2 separate regions of the Homo sapiens genome follow, and region 1 is linked to region 2. Evidence: promoter capture Hi-C in human tissues and cell types (Jung and others, 2019). All regions are on one chromosome and are shown on one strand. The core of a region is centred on a gene start or on the middle of the fragment in contact, and the rest is flanking DNA. Distances in the headings are between cores, read along the strand shown.

Region 1 (2,700 bases), core at 77-2,576, 220 kb after region 2:
TGAGCCACCACACCTGGCCTGTATTTACTTTTTATGTTATAATCTCAACTATACTTATTCTGTTATTTAAATGATTAAAAAACTAATTGGGCTAGCACAGTGGCTCATGCTTGTAGTCCCAGCTATTTGGGAAGCTGAGGCAGGAGGATTGCTCGGAACCCAGGAATTTGAGGTTACAGTGAGCTATGATTGAGCCACTGTACTCCAGCCTAGGCAAGAGAGCGAGAGAGTCTCTAAAAAAAAAAAGAAAAAAAGAAAAGAAAAAGTAATTGTTTAGAAAGTGTTGTTGGGCCAGGCCCGGTGGCTCACGCCTGTAATCCCAGCACTTTGGGAGGCCGAGGCGGGTGGATCACGAGGTCAGGAGATCGAGACCATCCTGGCTAACACGGTGAAACCCCGTCTCTACTAAAAATACAAAAAATTAGCTGGGCACGATGTTGGGCGCATGTAATCCCAGCTACTCGGGAGGCTGAGGCAGGAGACTAGCTTGAACCGGGGAGGCGGAGGTTGCAGTGAGCCAAGATTGCGCCATTGCACTCCAGCCTGGGCAACAAGAGTGAAACTCTGTCTCAAAAAAAAAAAAAGAAAGTGTTGTTGGAGCTCAGAAACCGATACCACCATATATGGCTTGGTGAACTGAGGAAGTCTCAAAGTCTCTCTGACTTACACCCCTCCCTTCCCCCACCCTCTGAAAAACAGGAGTTCCTTTATCTTCCTAAGATCCAGACCATCAAAAAAAATTAATTTTTTTCTCCTCCCTGGAAGGCCAGGAATGTAACTACACCTGAACATAGCTTTTCACAGGATCATGTACAGTTTAATCCCTGTTCCCTAATCCATTCATTCTCCCTAGTAATAGAATTATTTTCCCTACTTCCACAACCTGTTTTGCTAGCGTGGTCTGTAAGCTTCTGAATCACAATGGGGGTGGGCGATGACTTGTGATTTTCCTCTTGTGCTCGTTGTGTACTTGTTAAATAAATTTGTATGCCTGCTCTTCCATTAAACTGCCTCATGACAGTGATTTTCAGTGAACCTTCAGAGGGCCAAGGGGAAAGCCCTCTTTTGATCCCTACAGTGTATAAAATATGAATTAAGGTGCATGTTAAAAAACCTTTACATTTCCATTTTATATTACATTTCCATTATTTTATGGAAATTGTAAAATAATCAGGAAATTATTTTCAGATATTTCCAAAAGCTGTATTTCCTGTAACCTTGATTATCTATTAAAACTTTAAAACAATCAATAAATGAACTAAAATTAATAAAACTTAAAATTAAAATTATGTAGATAAGGCTGAAGTTTTTTAATTTAATTTTTTGAAAATTTAATGAAGGCCAGGCATGGTGGGTCACACCTGTAATCCCAGCACTTTGGGAGGCCGAGGCGGGCAGATCACCTGAGGTCAGGAGTTCGAGACCAGCCTGGCCAACATGGTGAAACCTCATCTCTACTGAAAATTCAAAAATTAGCTGGGCATGGTGGCAGGAACCTGTAATCCCAGCTATTCAGGAGGCTGAGGCAGAGGAATTGTTTGAACCCAGGAGGTAGAGGTTGCAGTGAGCCGAGATTGCACCACTGCACTCTAGCCTGGGCAACAGAGTGAGACTCTATCTCAAACAAAAAAAAAGAAAGAAAGAAAAAAAGAAAATTTAATGAAAGCTTATTAAACATTTTAATAGAATTAAACTATCTGCAATTTGGGCCAGGCTCAGTGGCTCACGCCTGTGATCCCAGCACTTTGGGAGGCTGAGGTGGATAGATCACCTGAGGTCAGGAGTTCAAGACCAGACTGGCCAACATGGTGAAACCCTGTGTCTGCTAAAAAATCCAAAAATTAGCCAGGCATGGTGGCACACGCCTATAATCCGAGCTACTCGGGAGGCTGAGGCAGGAGAATTGCTTGAACCTGGGAGGTGGAGGTTGCAGTGAGCCAAGATCACGCCACTGTGCTTCAGACTGGGTGACAGAGTGAGACTCAAGAAAATAAACAAACAAAAAAAACTATCTGCAATTTTAACATTCCATGTCCCTTTTGCTACAAATGTGAAGAATCAGTATCATACTTTGTTACATCTATACAAACATTTAAGAATAATATAAAATTGCTCAGTTTTGCAAAATGTTCCTCAGCTACCCATCTGAAATTTCATCCTAATTTGTGGGCATCTCTGGTGTCCTAAGAAAAGCAAGAAAATGCTTGACACTAGGAAAAGATACTCTATTAAGCCAAAAGCTATTGCATTCACACTGAGAGGAAGAACTTATTTGACAAGCTAATTATTTTGTCTTTTATCTGTTTCTGCTGTTTGGAATCCTCCCCACATTCCAAAGCAAGGTCTTTCTCCTACTTCAACAGCTGCAGAAACCATAAAGCTTTATGGCATTTGTATTCGGTTGCCTTTTGTTTTGTAGACATAGAGCAAGTGATGTGAAGTGTTTCCCTGGGGTCTAATAGGTGTTATTTCCAGGAGTGGATGTTTAAGTTTGTAAGTCATACAATGCCAGCCTGTATGCTGGATTCCAAGTAACAAAGGTATCTGTGTGTTATTTTATAAACGCATTTTGGCATTTATTTGTGACAAGCCAGGTTAAGGGCAGGGGCCCCTCTTGCTGTGTCTAGGGGTGATGCTAGTCAGAGTTTACAAAATGAAGTCACAGAAACTCCCAACACTTCCCTAGTCTTTCTAGGCCAC
Region 2 (2,867 bases), core at 314-2,813:
GGAGGTTGATTTAGTAATGGAAATCACTTAGCCCTTGAAGTCAGTTGATATGTGTTTTATTGCCATTCTACTACCCACCAAGACACTTTCACTGAGCTACAGTTTTCTCACCCAAATGGGGTTGACCGCGCTCACCTTGCAGGATAAAGTGAAAGAATTTATGTTAAAGTGTCATGCAGAAGGTCTTAGATTTGTTTTTTGCCTAACCAGCCAAAAAGTCATAATAATGCTCTACAGGGAGAAAACGCTGAATCTGCACCTTTTGTATCTAATTTACTATATGGTTAAAAAAAAATGTCAAAAAACACAACAGGAAGAGGGAAGAAGCAACCCTTCACCTTCCTCATCCTAGTCCCTAATCCGGCTGCCTCCCGTGTTTTCTACATTTAACCCAGAGGGCAAAAAAAGGCGGGGGGACGGGAACGCACGGAACCGTGACTCTTGCAGGGCCCCCTTTGGAACTCCAGTGACCTTCGTACAAATCTCTTTCATTCCTCCAAACTCCACCCCCCGCCCCGCCAACATACGCACACCCCTCTGCGGCCCAGGGAGGCAGGTGAAGAACTACATAACTGGCATAGTCACGAAAGAGACCACAAAAATGACAGGGCGATGACTGGGGTTGAAGGTTCTGGGGTTCTGTTTGTTTTCAAACAATAAAAGGAAGGGCTCCTGTGGACTGTTAGCGTCTGCTCTGCTGAGGGGAAAGGAGGACGATCTCGGCAAGTAAGTTCTGCGACCTGCTTGCAAACACACAGCTCTGCAGCTGGATTCCATATAAAGACGGGCACCCCGAGGCCCCAGAAGCGGCAGGCTCTGTCTGCAACTCGAAAGACCCCCCTGCTCGCACCCTCTGGCACAGGGACCCACCGACATGCACACTCGGAGGCAGACACAGCCCACACGCGGGATGCGCTCGGGGGCCCCACGCGGGTCGCCCAGGCTGGCCTCGGCGGGCGCCGCGCCTCACCTGTCTTAAAGACCATCTTGTCATCGTCTTTGGAGCCGAAGGTTTCCAGCATGGACACGAAGAGCACCCCGCAAGCGTTCTGGATGCCGAACACCGACCCGTTGCACCACATGGCCGCCAGCATCACCAGCCAGCCCCAGCCGCCCTCGGGGGGTTCGGGGGGCTCATGGGGCTCCGCGGTCGCCGGCCCCGCCAGCTCCACCTCCACCTTCTCGACAGCCGCCTCGGGGCTGTCCGAGGGTCCCGGGCCGGGCGGCGGAGCGGCCCCCGTGGGCGCGGGGCCGAGCGGCTGCGCCTCGCTCGTGCCCCGCGCGGAGTCCGGCTCCTCCTGGGAGAGCACCATGGCCCGAGGCGGGCCCCTCAGGCGCCGGAGAAGCGCGAGGGACGCGAGTTACCAGCGGGCTCCCGGAGGAGCTGCGGGGCTCCTGGCGGGCTAACGAGGCCGAGGCGAGGGCGGCGGAGCCCCTGGCGGGCGGGCGGGCTGGCAGCGCGCAGGCGGCCAGCGCGCAGGCGGCCGCGAGGACAGCTGGCGCGCGCGAACACCTCGGGGATCGACACTGAAGCCTCTAGGTCACAGCCCCGCACCCCCGACTGAGCCCACTGCCAGCCGCCGGTTCTTAAAAGCACCCCCCGCCCCGCCGGCTGGGGGCGTGGCCGGGAGCGGGACGTGCCCCCACAGCCTCCAGATGATTGGGCCTCGGAGAGCGGAGGCGGGGCGCCCCGCGGCGCGCGGCCCCAGGTGCCCGCGGCAGACGCTGTCTGCGCGCGCGTCTGCGACGGGGCCTCCTCCTGCTCAGAGAGGGGCACAGATGTGTGGGTCACCCCGCCTCAAAGCATGAGCAGAAGGGGCGCGTCTCCTAGGTGCGGGCGCGGTGGGCCTTCAGGAGAGCCACACTGGATCGTTAGCCTCAACTCACCGACACAGCGTCACAGTCACACTAACATTGTCTCGATTGTGTTTGTTTTATGTTTTGGCATTCACCTCTCAGTACTAATTATAATATGTAAGATTCGTTATGCCACCTGGCTTCTTAAATAAGTCATCTGAAGGATCAGAGCCCTTATTTTATTACTTCAGTTCCATTCTCTTGCATTCGTATACAATTTCCTTATGAATATTTGGCACACCAAAGATGCTTATTTTCAGTCCTCACTGGACTGCAATTCCGAAGTCTTCAACCAACAAACATTTTTAACAGACAGCTAGAAAGCATTACTTTTCAACTACATCAGAGTCGTTTTCACTTTAAACAAAAACTAAAACCTGTATTCAACTCCTCTGTCTCCCTGAAGCATGGAGTGCCATCCTATGTAAAAGAAAAGAAGAGTAACCTGCTATGCAATATTGAGGATGCTTCTTAATTTCTGTTATTCGTATTCTTCACTTCAATCAAAGTCAAAATATGCTAGTTACTTGATGTGCCCACCACTGTGATAGAGTACACAGATGAGTGCGATTGATCTCGTTTCTGCCTCTTATCAGTTGATAAACTGGTAGGAAAAAAGAGTCCTGGGAGAGACTAGGAGGCTCAGATGATGTGTTATAATACATGTACAAAAGAGAGAGATGAGATAGTCCCTTAAATTCTCTCCAAACACTGTAGAAGAGCCTCTACAGCAAACAGCCTTTGGCCGAAGCCCTGATTCATACATACGACTTCAGTGGGTCAAGACAGGAAAAGAGCATTCCAGGTAGAGAAAATAGCATAAACTAAGGAAAGCAAGCCGTGCTTGGTTGTGGAATGGGGAACATAGCTCAAGTGTAATCTGCCTTAGAAATGAGGGTAAAATAGTAAACAAAGGAATAGGCACATAAGTGCACAAAAATGTATGTATGAAGATGATACCCCAGTATTGTTGGAAATAAGGAAAATTTGGAAGTATAATGTACATTGGT

The links. Contacts are between HindIII fragments. The study calls those that stand out against the background at their distance.
Region 1: a fragment that was not itself captured here is called in contact with the fragment with the promoter of SLC16A10 in region 2 in 1 of the 25 tissues and cell types used here (liver).

Annotation. Positions count from the first base shown.
Region 1 is chr6:110,864,702-110,867,401 of GRCh38, reverse strand. It overlaps a transcript of AMD1 not described here. Among named protein-coding and RNA genes, the nearest start is that of AMD1, 8.7 kb to the left of the region's middle. RefSeq lists a silencer at 702-996. The HindIII fragment of the contact is 5,977 bases long and covers 1-2,700 here.
Region 2 is chr6:111,086,199-111,089,065 of GRCh38, reverse strand. It overlaps SLC16A10 (solute carrier family 16 member 10), which reads right to left and starts at 1,563. Exons shown (of 6, transcript NM_018593.5): 1 at 971-1,563. The coding sequence starts at 1,313. RefSeq lists silencers at 993-1,172, 1,203-1,882 and an enhancer at 680-1,180. The HindIII fragment of the contact is 15,668 bases long and covers 1-2,867 here.